Regions from separate parts of the Homo sapiens genome. Here region 1 is linked to region 2. Evidence: promoter capture Hi-C in human tissues and cell types (Jung and others, 2019). All regions are on one chromosome and are shown on one strand. The core of a region is centred on a gene start or on the middle of the fragment in contact, and the rest is flanking DNA. Distances in the headings are between cores, read along the strand shown. Region 1 has its middle 4.1 kb from the start of IGFL3. Region 2 holds the start of CCDC8 (coiled-coil domain containing 8 subunit of 3M complex).

The links. Contacts are between HindIII fragments. The study calls those that stand out against the background at their distance.
Region 1: a contact is called between a fragment that was not itself captured here and the fragment with the promoter of CCDC8 in region 2, in 2 of the 25 tissues and cell types used here (small bowel and thymus).

Annotation. Positions count from the first base shown.
Region 1 is chr19:46,125,112-46,132,532 of GRCh38, forward strand. It overlaps a transcript of IGFL2 not described here. Among named protein-coding and RNA genes, the nearest start is that of IGFL3, 4.1 kb to the left of the region's middle. The HindIII fragment of the contact is 6,419 bases long and covers 2,815-7,421 here.
Region 2 is chr19:46,408,782-46,416,114 of GRCh38, forward strand. It overlaps CCDC8 (coiled-coil domain containing 8 subunit of 3M complex), which reads right to left and starts at 4,783. Exons shown (of 1, transcript NM_032040.5): 1 at 1,548-4,783. The coding sequence starts at 4,029. The coding sequence ends at 2,413. RefSeq lists enhancers at 1-423, 3,157-3,990, 5,657-6,490, 6,491-7,323. The HindIII fragment of the contact is 10,715 bases long and covers 1-7,333 here.

The DNA of each region.
Region 1 (7,421 bases), core at 4,774-7,273, 280 kb before region 2:
ATGTCTCTGGAAATGTCAAGGGGACCGTTTATGAAGCCACTTTATTTTTTGCTCTGGAGTCATTAGAGTTGCCACCTGCTCTAGCAGTTGAGCCACGGCTCTGGAAACTCCAATAAAGGGGGTAGGGGTGGAGAATAGCAATGGCCCAAATCTCCTGGTGTGCTTGGTGTGAGGATTCAGAGACCTCCAGCATCTTAGTTACATGGTCAGGGAAAGTACTAAACACCTGCTTTTCATAATCATATTATATTAGTGGCCAATGATAAGTGATGTAGTACTTAGGAGTGTGTAGTACTTAGGTGTGCAGACAGAGGGAAGGGCAGGGCAAACTGAGGCCTGCCAGGCAAGTGCCAGCTAGGGAAGGGCTTGGACAAATTCAAATAATCCCGAAGCTGTGGAAAGGACCTCAGTCTTCATGGATGTGTGATGATTCAATCAGAAAATGTCTAAGGATTGGCCAGACTTTCCATCCTCCACTTGCTGGCACAGCATAGGGAAGAGTTGCTGACTTAAGTTCATCCAGCCTGTACCATAGCCTTTGAAATGGTTCTCCTTTTCTGAGCTTCATTCTTAGCTTCCTGTACATGTGCGGAGGTGTGGGGTGTGGTTTGGATGCACAAGGCTGCTCTCCCCTACCCCGGAACCTAAGAAGGCCAACAATGTGAAGATTCCTAGTGAGCCCAGGCTGTCAGCTTGTTTACTACCAAATGTTAAAAAGAAACGTTTGAGTTTGATTAGGTAAAATACAAAGGACAAATAATAATATCTTTAATATACAATTATCATTCTTATTCCAAATGAAACTTCAGCTTTACTATTGGGCATTGGGAAGTTAATGTGTACTTAATTTTTCATCTTACAGAAGTGGCAAGGGGCAGCTTGAAGGGATAATTTTTAATGCATTTTATAATGATAATCATTTAGAGAAATCCTTATGTTGTATCTCATTAACACTAAGATGTTATTGAAAGATACACTGTTGTTTTGCAACTCTAAGATGCAATCTCATCACTTAGAATGTTTATTAACAGAGCTTCTTGCAACATGTTGAGACGTAGACTTTTGGAAGGCGAATAGAAAAATAAAAATATATGGGAAATAAATCTGTTAAAGATTTCTTAAAATGTCTCCACATTTGGAGACTGCCTCCTGTGAATCATCTTTCAACCCCAGATTGGTTCCTGTGCTTTCTTACACAACATCATTCTCAGTTCTACCAACAGCATTGGTCATGCAAAGTTTGGTTTTATTCTAAGCTGCTGACACCCATACTGCAAGTTATCATTGAACTGGTGACACTAGCCCCTTCTTTCTTTGAATTTTCTTTCATCTATTCCTAGAGATTTTGACAACTCCTTCTGCCTTTCATTATGTTGTTTTCCTTGTGCTAGGCAATCCTTCTGTGCCTGTCTCAGAAACAAAATGTGATACTCTTCATCTCTTTATCTTCTTGTGCCCCATAAAGCACTTGGTTGTTGATCTGCAAGAAAATATGTACTTGGGTTCATTCCTAAAACAATGAGCATGTGCTTCATTAACAGTAAATTTACGTCATCGTCTTCTATTAATGTGTCATTCTGCACACACAACACACAAGCCAAATCATGGTGTTTTCTGATATTTAAAATGACAGTTACACTCAACACATGAAACATAAGCAATCCACACAACTTAATTGAAGTGTCAAGAATATTAACCTGAAGACTTAGTTCGTCCCTGTACAACTGGCAGCAGCTATGTCACTCTGCTTGTCTGATAGCTATTGCAAGACCCTATTGATGATACGATGCATCACTAGTTCAAGGGTATGGGAATGTAGAATATATATGTACATCTCTGAGTGGAGGAGAGTCATTCCAATTTGAAACTTAGTATATTTATGAGGATCAGATGAAGACACACTTGAAAAGCTCCCAGCACAGTAGCTGGAGTGTGTCAAGCTTTTCGTATTTTCTCTCCTCAACTGTGCTTTCTTAAGAAAGCTGCAAAATAGTCTGGGCACAGTGGCTGACACCTGTAATCCTGGCACTTTGGGAGGCTGAGGTGGGAGAACAGCTTAAAGCCAGGAGTTCAAGACCAGCCTGGGCAACAAAGCGAGACCCTGTCTGTACCAGAAAACAAAAATAAAATTAGTTGGGCATGGTGGTACATGCCTGCAGTCCCAGCTACTCGGAAGGCTGTGGTGAGCTGTGATGGCACCACTGTAATCCAGCCTGGGTGACTGAGTGAGATGCTGTTGCAAAGAAAGAAGAAGGAAGGAAGGAGAGAAAGAGAATAAGAAAGAAAGAACAAAATATACACATCTTGTTCCATGAACTATTGACAATTTAGGTCATAGGCAATCATTCTTAGTCTAAATTTTCTTGAAGGAAGAAATAACTTTCTGTCTGGCACTAAGTTTCAACATAATTTAGGTCCCGGACAATTTTTGCTGATTTAATGAAAATTATCAATCCTCCCAGAAAATTGTTCTTAAACGGATGTATAGGTAGATAGGTAAGATGTATAGGTAGGTAGGTAGGTGGGTAGATAGGTAGGTAGGTAGATAGATAGATGATGGATGGATGGGTGGTTGGATATTAGATAGATGTTAGATTGATAGACAACAGACAGACTGCATGCAATTTCTTTTTTTTTAGAGTCACTAATTTTACTTTTTTAAAATGTTAAAAAATCTACTTTTAATTTTTTCGTAAGTTATTGGGGTACAGGTGGTATTTGGTTACTTGAGCAAAGGAGCCACTGGCCACAGAAGTTTCTGGTTGGTGAAGCGACACCCCAAGGATCCCATAACACTTTGGGAAGTATGGCCATTTTTAACAATATTGATTCTTCCTATCCATGAGCATGGAATGTTTTCCCACTTTTTTGTGTCATCTCTGATTTGTTTGAGCATTATTTTGTAGTTCTCCTTGTAGAGATCTTTCACCTCCCTGGTTAGCTATATTCCTAGGTATTTTACTCTTTTTGTGGCAATTGTGAATGGGAATTGCAGTCCTGATTTGGCTTTACTGTTGTTGGTGTATGGGAATGCTAGTGATTTTTGTACATTGTACAAAAAATGTACATTTGTACATTGATTTTATATCCTGCAACTTCGCTGAAGTTGCTTATCAGCTGAAGGAGCTTTTGTGGAGACTGTAGGGTTTTCTAGATACAGGATCATGTCATCTGCAAACAGGGATAGTTTGATGTACTCTCTTTTTATTTAGATGCCCTTTATTTCTTTCTCTTGCTTGATTGCTCTGGCCAGGACTTCCTATACTATGTTGAATAGGAGCAGTGAAAGAGGGCATCCTTATCTTGTACCAGTTTTCAAGGTGAATTCTTCCAGCTTTTGCCCATTCTGTATAATGTTGGCTGTGAGTTTGTCACAGATGGCTCTTGTTATTTTGAAGTATATTTCTTCAATACCTAGTTTATTGAGAGTTTTTAACATGAAGAGGTGTTGAATTTTTCTCAAAAGCCTTTTCTGCATCTACTGAGATAATTATGTGGTTTTTGTCTTTAGTTCTGTTTCTGCAATGAATCACATTTATTGATTTGCATATGTTGAACCAACCTTGCATCCCAGGAATAAAGCCTGCTTGATCATGGTGGATTAGCTTTTCATGTGCTGCTGGATTCAGTTTGCCGGGATTTCTTGAGGATTTTTTGCATTGATGTTCATCAAGGATATTGGCCTGAAGCTTTCTTTTCTTGTTGTGTGTCTGCCAGGTTTTGATATCAGGATGATGCTGGCCTCATAGAATAAGTTAGGGAGGAGTCCCTCCTTCTCAATTTTTTGGAATACTTTCAGTAGGAATGGTACCAGCTCTTCTTTGTACATCTGGTAGAATTCAACTGTGAATCCATCTGGTCTTGGAAATTTTTTGGTTGGTAGGCTATTTATTGCTGATTCAATTTCAGAACTTGTTATTGGTCTATTCAGGGACCGAATCTCTTCCTGGTCCAATCTTGGGAGTGTATATGTCCAAAAATATATCAGTTTCTTGTAGATTTTCTGGTTTATGTGCATAGAGGTGTTGATAATATTCTCTGATGGTTATTATTTCTGTGGGGTTAGTGATAATATCCCCCTTTACATTTCTAATGGTATTTATTCGGATCTTCCCTCTTCTTTTTTAATCTAGCTAGTGTTCTATCTATTTTATTAATTTTTTTCAAAAAACCAACTCTTGGATTTGTTGATCTTTTGTGTGTGTGTGTGTGTGTGTGTGTGTGTGTGTGTGTGTGTGTGTCTCTGTCTCCTTCAGTTCAGTTTTGATTTTGATTATTTCTTGTCTTCTGCCGGCTTTGGGGTTTGTTTGCTCTGGGTTCTCTAGTTCTTTTAGTTGTGATGTTAGGTTGTGAAGCTGAGTTCTGACTCTCTGAAGTGGGCAATTAGTACTATAAATTTCCCTCTTACTCCTGCCTTAGCTGTGTTCCAGAGATTCTGGTATATTGTATCTTTGTTCTCATTGGTTTCAAATAGCTTCTTGATTTCTGCCTCAATTTCATTATTTACCCCAAAGTCATTCAGGGGCAGGTTATTCAATTTCCATGTAATTGTATGGTTTTGAGCAAATTCCTTAGTCTTGATTTCTAATTTGATTGTGCTATGGTCTGAGAGAGTGGTTGTTATGATTTCGGTTCTTTTGTGTTTGCTGAGGAGTGTTTCGTGTCTGATTATGTGGTCGATTTTTCAATGTGTGCCATGTGGTGGTGAGAAGAATGTATATTCTATTGCTTTTGTGTGGAGAGTTCTGCAGATGTCTATCAGGCCCATTTGATCCAGTGCTGAGTTCAGGTCCTGAATATCTTTGTTAATTTTCTGACCTGATGATCTGTCTAATACTGTCAGTGAGGTATTGAAGTTTCCCACTATTATTGTATGGATGTCTAGATCTCTTTGAAGGTCTCAAAGAGCTTGCTCTCTGAATCTGGGTGCTCTTGTGTTGGGTGCATATGTATTTAGGATAGTTAGGCCTTCTTGTTGAATTGAACCCTTTACTATTACATAATACCCTTCTTTGTCTTTTTTTATCTTTGTTGGTTTAAAGTCATCTGAGATTAGGATTGCAACTCCTGCTTTTTTCTGTTTTCCATTTGCTTGGTAGATTTTCCTCCATCCCTTTATTTTGAGCCTGTGGGTGTAATTGCATGTGAGATGGACTGCATGCAGTTTCAAGGGTTCAGGTTCACTGTTTATTTAAACCAAATACTACAGGGTATGATCTCCTGAACTAAGTGGGTGAAGTACACGTTTCCTATGAAACAGCCTTTTTCATTATCTCACAGGGCAATAACTTCTTTAGAGTTTTGATAAATATTTTAGTTCCCCCAGCAAGCATCAGATGATGAGTTAAAGAACATACCATGTTATTTAAAATATGGCATTTGTTTGTCTACATGCTGTTTATTGAGGTTCTTGGAAGCACCTTTTCATTATGTTTATAAACTGGTTACTTGCAAGTGGTTGCTTGCCAGTTTAAACTAGCTTAAGCTGTGGCAAAAAGAGGAATTTATTATCTTTGGTAGGTTCCAAATTAAAAAATAAAGTGAGCAAGAACTAAGATTAGAAGAAATTTATGAGCTTGGATGAAGGTTCCCAGTATTTCTCATTATTTTTATGTTTAATGATGTATAGTTCCTTTTCTGTAAATGATACACTATTCAGAATAATTGTTTTGGGTTGTTTGCTTCCTTCTTATTAATTTATAAATGCTCTTTTTATATGGGAGATACTAACCTTTTGTCTGTTATATGTTTTCCTCGCCTTTGTGTTTGTTTCTCAGTAATGCTGGTGGAGTCTTCTTTTTTGAGATATTTTAAATTTTTATGCAGCAGTGTCTTTTACCACTGCCCTACATCTTCTTTCCACTTTTTGGCTTCCGCTTACGTAAGGAGGCCATCTCCAACTTAAAGTTCTATGAATAGTTCTATATTTTTACTTTCTTTTTAGTCATTTTTATTCACATATAACTTTTTCTATAAGATGTGATGCTGAGTCTAAGTTAATTTTCTTGCTAATGAATGTCCTATTGAATCTGAAATTACTTGTTGACTAGTTTCATCCCTTTTCTTCTAATGTACAATGTTACTTTTCTTATATCTCAGTTTTCCATTATTAGCTTTATCTGTTGATGGACTCTGTTCAATTGATTTATGTGTAATTTTTCTAGGTAGTGTCTGGTTCATTTACAGTAGCTTTGTTTTAAATTTTAATAATAGACAAAAACTTCTCTCCTTATTACACTACATTAAGCTTTACTCGACAATATTTGTGCAGTCAGCTTTAAGAGCTCCCAAGTAATTTTCTAAACCCTCCTCCTAAAAAATAGCAAAATTTAAAAATGGGAATTCAGATGAAATTTTTTTGTAAACATTGTTTGGCTTTGGAAAGCATGAGCATTCTAATGTTTTAATACTTTCTGTCTCAGAGGTTTATCGACTTCTTTTTTTATTAGGTCTAGTTTGCTGTCAACACCCATTTAATTTTACGTAAACATGCTCTTCGAGGCTGAAGCGAATATGACTGATTTTCAGTGTGAAAATAAAACATAAAAACCCCTTCTTGGCTCATGCCTGTAATCGCAGCACTTTGGGTGGCTGAAGCAGGCAGATCACTTGAGGCCAGGAGTTTAAGACCAGCCTGGCTAATATGGTGAAACCCTGTCTCTACTAAAAATACAAAAGTTAGCCGGGCATGGTGGCCTATGCTTGTAGTCTCAGCTACTCGGGAGGCTGAAGTGGGAGAGTCGCTTGAACCCAGGAGGTGGAGGTTGCAGTGAGCCAATATTATGCTACTGCACTCCAGCCTGGGGAGCAGAGCGAGACTCCCTCTCAAACAACAACAACAAAAACAAAACTGTTCTTGGAGTTGTTTCTAAACAGAACTTGTCTCTAGTATTAACGTAGCAGAAATGTATATGATTTTACATTAGTATTAAAGATAAGAATATTCTTGGCCAACAGGAAATGGGTTAAAGCCTTGCAGAGGAGGGAAACAGTGAATTTTGTCATTCACTTAACCAGTTTTCACACACACACAGAGAAAGTCCAGAAGCCTGGCTGGTAAGAAATTCTTACCCTTTTGCTGGCATGCTACGGTTTTGGGTTCTCTTTTTCTGAGCAACTTTGGTGACCTTGCTCCCTGTGGCATAGCTGTGGGGGCCAAGCCACGTTACAAAAGAAAATGATCCCTTTCCATTTCATGGAACCATAGGCAAAAGTCTCTCCTTTTTACAAGAGGCCAACCAGTGGGTTGCATGGGAAAATAAGATATTGAATTAAATGCACAGAAAGAAAACAATTCATTGGGACATAAGTGACACAAACTTTGGTTCCACGTGCTGTCAGTTCTCTCCTTAAAAAGCCAGCACCCAAAGTTGATAGACTCACACACCCAAACAGACAGATGACAGAAAAGTCCACAGGCT
Region 2 (7,333 bases), core at 3,533-6,032:
GCTCTAGCAAGGCCATGCGGCGCGCCAGGCAGCAAGCAGCACCAGCAGTAACCACTCCACTCAGAAAAGAGCAGGGGTGGGGCGCGGTGGCTCACTCCCATAGTCCCAGAGCTGAGGCCAGAGGATCGCTTGATCCCAAGAGTGCAAGTGAGCCGTGATTGCAACACCACACTCCAGCCTGGGTGACAGAGCCAGACCCTGTCTTGAAAGAAAGAAAAGAGTAAAGAAAAGAGAGAAAGAGAAAGGAAAGAAAGCAAGAGAGAGAGAGAAAGAGAGAGGGAGGGAGGGAGGAAGAAAGAAAGAGGGAAGGAAGGAAGGAAGGAAAGGAGGGAGGGTGGGAGGGGGAAGGGGAGGGAGAGGGAGAGGGGAGGGAGAGAGGGAGAGGGGAGGGGAGTGGAGGGAGAGAGGGAGAGGGGAGGGGAGTGGAGGGAGAGAGGGAGAGGGGAGGGGAGGGAGGGAAGGGGAGGGGAGGGAGGGAAGGAGGGAGGAGGGTGGAAGAGAGAAAAACAAAAGGAGGGTGGTGGGATAGAATTCTTTACTTTCCTGAGGAAAAAAATAAGAAACTTAGGCCAGGCCTGCAACCAGTTAGGAAGACAGACTGGCCTTTGGACCTCCACGAACTCTCTTTTCTCCTGCCCTCAGCAAGGCTAGAGTGTGGTCATTTGCTGTTTTTCACTGCTAGGGGTTGTGGGGACACAAGGCAATACAGGCCCCCAGCTTCCTCCTAACCTCCACAGGGCTTTAGCAACCCAGTTTCTTCCCAATTATAGGAAGCAGTTGGCCGCGTGCAGTGGCTCATGCCTGTAATCCCAGCACTTTGGGAAGCAGAGGTGGGCAGATCAGCTGAGGTTAGGAGTTCAAGACAAGCTTGGCCAATATGGTGAAACCTCATCTCTACTAAAAATACAAAAATTAGCCAGGTGTGGTGGCACACACCTGTAGTCCCAGCTATTCGGGAGGCTGAGGGAGGAGAATCGCTTGAACCAGGGAGGCGGAGATGGCAGTGAGCCGAGATCGTGCCACTGCACTCCAGCCTGGGAGACAGAGAGTGAGATTCCATCTCCAAAAAGAAAAAAAAAAATGCAGCAGCAATTAATGCACAATACACACAGCCTCTTTTTTTTTTTTTTTTTTTTTTTTTTTTTGAGACAGAGTCTCACTGTGTCACTAGGCTGGAGTGCAATGGCACAATCTCGGCTCACTGCAACCTCCACCTCCTGGGTTCAAGAGATTCTCTTGCCTCAGCCTCCAGAGTAGCTGGGACTACAGGCGTGCGCCACAAGGCCAGTCTAATTTTTGTATTTTTATTAGAGACGGGGTTTCACCACGTTGGCCAGGATGGTCTCGATCTCTTGACCTCGTGATCCACCCGCCTTGGCCTCCCTAAGTGCTGGGATTACAGGCGTGAGCCACCATGCCCGGCCAACCACAGCCCCTCTTTTGGGCCTTTTCCTATTGCAATGATTTTTCAATGTGTCCAGTGGCCGAGTTGCCCAGATGTCCGTGGAGCTTGATGCAAACAGAATTCAGAGCCACACAGGCACCGCTAGCAAATCCACACCTCTGGTGCCGAGGGCCCCAGAATCTGTGTTTTGAATGCATTTTTCAGACGCTTTTACTGTACCTTATAACCAAGATCGGGTGAGGTGTGCAAACCAAGGGCCCTGTCCCCTCCAAACCAGCAGAGCCCGGGGCATGAGGATGGCAAGCGAAGTGACAACATAAACACAGGTGTCTCCATCATCAAGGATGGGAGTGGAACGGACAGCAAGGGCCAGGTCACCCCCAGAGCATTCGTCAGTTGTCAAGTCCAAAGCTAAGAAATCAGTTCATAAATGTTTTTTGATTTGCATGTTGGCTCAACTCTTTTTAAGTCCAAGGAGGCAGTCCACATTAAGTGTGCAGGCAAAAAAGAGATGGAAAAAGGAGTCAGTTTCTCCCCTGCCCTCCCTCTCTCCCTTTATCAAGCTGAGCACCTTGAGTTGCATTTGAGGAAATGAAAACTATAGGTGACGCAACCCCATTGTGTCGAATTCTTTCTTTACATTTTTTGGGTTGCTACAAGGAATCAGTATTTTTTTTTTTTAATCAGATGGTGTGTGTGGTGGCTCACATCTGTAATCCCAGCATTTTGGGAGGCCGAGGCAGGAGGATCACTTGAGGCCAGAAGTTTGAGGCTGCAGTGAGTTATGATCATGCCACTGCACTCCAGCCTGGGCAACAGAGTGAGACCCTGTCTCTAAAAAATTTAAAAAAAAATCAAAGCATGAACAAAACTTTAACAAGAGAATAAAGAGGGTTGTTAGGTGGAGACGTGGCCAGCACTCCACCTCCACTTTGAAGTTCAGAGGCAGAGCATCTCTCCCTCCCACACTTGGAGGGAGGGCCCGTGGGCTGTCTCTAGCCCTCACCTCACAGCTGGTCTTCTTGCTCTCCCTGCTCAGCTTCTGCTCTGGCCTCGGCCCTCAGCACCCTGAGGTTCCTGGCCTCTCCTGCCCTGGGGACTCTCTTGGGCAGGGTTGGCAACCGGGGAGTGTGCCAGAAGGCTCTCCGGCGCTTGCAAAACCACGAAAAGCGTCCAGGGGTCTGGAACCTCACTGTCTTGACCTGTTTCCGGGCCCTGGCTCCTGGAGCTGTTCCTGTGGTCCCTTGGGCAGCTGAGACTTCAGCTTCCTGGATACCTGGGGCCCCTGCCCTCTGATTATGTGCAGCCTCTGCCCTCTGGCCAGCCCGGGCCTGTGCCCTCTGATTATCTGCACCCTGGACAGCTGGGGCCCTTTCCCTCTGGTCATGTACGGCCTCTTCCCTTTGATTATCTGTAACCTCTGACCCCTGGTCAGCTGGGGCCTCCGCCCTCTGATTATCTGCAGCCTCTTCCCTGTGGTTATCTGTGCCCTGTGACCTCTGGTCAGCTGGGGCCTCTGCCCTCTGATTATCTGCAGCCTCTTCCCTCTGGTTATCTGCAGCCTCTGCCCCCTCCTCAGCTGGGGCCCCTGCCCTCTGATTATCTGCAGCCTCTTCCCTCTGATTATCTGCAGCCTCTGCCCCCTGGTCAGCTGGGGCCCCTGCCCTCTGATTACCTGCAGCCCCTTCCCGCTGGTCAGCTATGGCCTCTTCCCTTTGACTATCTGCAGCCTCTCCCCCCTGATCAGCCTCGATGTCTGCCCCCTGACCTGTGGGTGCTGTCTGCTCCTTCCTGCGGCGCCGAAAGGAGGCCCAGTTGATCTTGGGCCTCCATCGCCTAGGGGAAGCCTGGGGCACACAAACATCTCCCGCGTTTCCCAAGCGATCCCCCGGGCTGGTGCCCTCTGGCGCCGATGATACCCCTGCGCTCTCCACTGCGGTGGAGGCCAGCCGGGCCTCGCCCACCCCGGGGCCCGCCCTCGGCGCCCAACCCTTCACCCTCCGCTTCAGCTTCCCCCAGGACACCTGGCTGACATACTCCCGCCACCTGTCCGCTTTGGACAGCTGAGGCCCCAGGTTGTCCTCAAACATGGGCACTGGCAGGTTGACGCGGCGGCGGGCAGGCGGCGCGCTGGGCTGCTTCTCCTGTCGCCGGAGGAAGGCCTCGACCAGTTCCTCATCATCCTCACTCTCCAGGTCGCTTCCCAGGAACTTGCTGCCCAGGTAGCTGACGGGCATTTTGCGCACCTTCTTGCCCCGCCGCGGGCCCTGGCGGCTCTTGTCTCTGGAGGTCTCGAAGTCGCTGAACTCGCTGTCGCTGGCGTTGCTGCTGTCGTACGTGCCCACGACCAGCCGGGGCGGAGGAGTCACCATCTGCTGCACTCTCCTCCTCACTCGGGGCTCCTTGGGCTTTTTGGGGGGCTGGGGCGGGTGCGGGGTGCTCTTCTCCATGATGCGGGCCACGTCCTCCAGGGTGCGGCCCTCTTCTTCCAGGAACTGGGTCAGCCGCTCCCGAAATTCTGCTTCCTTGGTGGCGGGCTTAGAGATGACTCTCCAGACGCCCCCAGCCAGCCTGACCTCCCGGGGGATGAGCAAATAGTCGACGTCCTCCCCGATCTGCAGCATCCCCACCGTGGAGTCCTCCTCCTTGCGGAACACCTTGCCGATCTTCTTAAATGTCCCCACGGGCTTTAGGGCTTCCACGAGGACGTCCAAATCCACATCTTTGCAGACATCGGGGACGCTCCAAAGAATGAGGCAGTCGGGGGACGGCAGGAAGCCCCAGGGGAACCAGCCCCCCACGTGGCTTTTCTCGAGAGTCTTTAAGATCTCCAGGGTGATATCTGGGGTGAGGGGGCAATGAGCCCCAACAAACTACTGTAGCCCTTAGTCTTGAGGGAGGGACTGGATGGGGGGAGTTCCAGCAACGCTGACCGGAGAGTCTCACCTCCCTAGCCAGGGACGAGCCAAACGCCTCCAATCTCTTCGCCTGCAACAAGTACAGTCTTGACCAAGTCCGGCTCCCCCACCAAGGACTTGGGGGAATCAATTTCCAGGATGCCTACGTGAGCCGGGGGCGAGGTCAGTCCCAAGGCTCAAGGCCCACTCCAAGCTGGAAACGTGGTGTCCCAGCTCCAAGTTGGGGCGCGCGGGCTGCCAGCGACTCTTCCTGCCCCAGGCCCCAGGGACGCGGCTGGAACTTGGGACAGGACTTCGCAGACAAAGACGGTCCAGTCGAAGCTATTCAATATGGCCGAGGCGCTGGGAGGCCCCAGCCCGGGCCTCCAGTAGGGTCCCCCGCCCCCAGGCAGGCCGCCACCCAGCTCCAGGCTGACCTTGACGCGCCGCAGCCTGCCAGCCCGCGCGCTTAGAGCTCTGCACCGTGGAGCGCGCGGGCAGGAAGTTCCTCCTCGCCCTCCGCCAGAATGAGGCCCACCTTCCCCCGTCTCATCTTACACTCCCAGACTCTGGAAGACTGACAGGGGGGCTGTCCACTCCCTTCGGGGCGGCCTCCTTCCCCTCCCCCACAGGGGTGTGGCCGCGCCCCGGGCCTAGCTGGGCCCATTGCTTCCCAGCGAAGCGGCAGTGGCCCACGTCAGCACCTTTCCTGAAAGGCAGCGGTTCCCAAACCTGCCATCCGAAATGTGCAAGTTTCCAGCCAAGTCCGGGAGGTGGGTGTGCTAGTGGATTCTACTTTTTGAGAGCCACTGGCACCACAGATTAGCATTTTAAATTCACGCGACTATCGGTACCCGTACACCTATATGCGTGGGTAGAGAAATGGGTACCTGACTGCAACAGTCCCACTGTGGCGCTTGGCAGGTCAGGGCTCAATACATATTTTTGAGGGGATGAATAAACCCAAATGTTCATGGCCAGGCGCGGTGGCTCATGCCTGTAATGCCAGCACTTTGGGAGGCCCAGGTGGGTGGAACACTTGAGGCCAGGAGTTCGAGACCAGCCTGCCCAACATGGTGAAACCCTCGTCTCTACCCCGGGTGTGGTGGTGCGCGTGCGTAGTCCCAAGCTACGCGAGAGGCTGAGGCAGGAGAATGGCGTGAACCTGGGAGGTGGAGGTTGCAGAGATCGCGCCACTGCACTCCGGCCTGCGCAACAGAGGGAGACTGTCTCAAAAAAACAAAAGTGCAAAAAAACCCCTACAAATAAACAACAACAAAAAACCCTAAAAGTTCACGAGTAGAGACTGCCTCTATTTTATGGTAGTATCTTACAGTGAAATATTTTGCAACTTCGAAAAAAGAATGAGATGGCTAAGGATAGGCACGGTTTATGAGGCGCTTCCTATGTAGTAGGCACCATTCCCAGTGCTTTCTATGAATGAACTCAGGAAATCCTTGCTATAACAGGAGACTGGTAGCATGAGTACAATTCCCATTAGACAGCTGAGGAAACTGAGGCCCAAGGACATAAAACCACACTCTCAAGGTCACAGCCATGGGGAGTGGTTGAGTTTGGATTTGAATCCAGAATAGTCTGCCTTTTGTGTCGACCAAAGAGTCAAGATGGCCAGGCGCGGTGGCTCACGCCTGTAATCCCAGCCCTTTGGGAGGCTGAGGCGGGCAGATCACGAGGTCAGGAGATCAAGACAAGACCATCCTGGCTAACGCGGTGAAACCCTGTCTCTACTAAAAATGCAAAAAAATTAGCCGCGCGTGGTGGTACGTGCCTGTAGTCCCAGCTACTCGGGAGGCTGAGGCAGAAGAATCTCTTGAACCCGGGAGGCGGAGGTTGCAGTGAGCCGCGATCGCACCACTGCACTCCAGCCTGGACGACAGAGCAAGACTCCGTCTCAAAAAAAAAAAAAGAAAGAAAGAAAGAAAAAAAAGAATCAAGATGTGAACCAATGCTAGTCGCATTCGGCCGGGAGCTCGGTTCTTGAGACGCGAGTCTACCGAAGCTCCCGCCAGTTGAGAGGCGAGTCTGCCGAAGCTCCCGGCCGAAAAAGCCAAATCCTTCCTTAACCCAGTGTCTGAGGGGTTTTGTCCGTGGCTCCTCCTGCTACAGGACATGCGACTAGCATTGGTCCACATCTTTGGAACCAGGCATCCAGAGACATGTTGAATAGGCCTCGTTGTTAGGAACCCTCAGAGGTACATGGTAAGGCCAGTGCCATCAATCATCTTTTTACAGACGGTGAAACTGAGGCTGGTCTGAAGTTGCACAGCTCTGAGTGGTGGATCTAATATAATATTAGAACCAGATCTTGGGCACTAGCATTTAAAACACTAGCTGACGCTAAAGACACAGCTAATCCCCTTCTCCTAAATGTGTTGCACCATTTAACCACTTAGCAGCCACAATACTTGCAGCCACTCTTGCCTGGATGTGTACAAAGCCCCCTCACTGGGCTTCCCGCCTCCCCATCACTGCTTGCAATCCAGGCCCCATCCAGAAGCTGGGGGCATCTTTTAAAAACTTAGGTCCGATCTGTCTCTACTCTTTTGAAAATTCTCCATCTCAGGCTGGGCGCCGTGGCTCACGCCTTTAATCCAGCACTTTGGGAGGCTGAGGCGGGCGGATCACCTGAGGTCCGGAGTTTGAGACCAGCCTGGTCAACATGGCAAAACCCCATCTCTACTAAAAAATACAAAAATTGCCGGGCGCGGTGGCTCACGCTTGTAATCCCAGCATTTTGGGAGGCTGAAGCGGGTGGATCACCTGAGGTCAGAAGTTTGAGACCAGCCTGGCCAACATGGTGAAACCCCGCCTCTACTAAAACTACAAAACTAGCCTGTCTTGGTGGCGCATGCCTGTAATCCCAGCTACTCCGGAGGCTCAGGCAGGAGAATCGTTTGAATCCGGGATTCAGAGGTTGCAGTGAGCTGAGACCGTGCCATTGCACTCCAGCCTGGGCAACAAGAGCGAAACTCCGTCTCAAAAACAAACAAACAAAAAAAAGAAACGAACA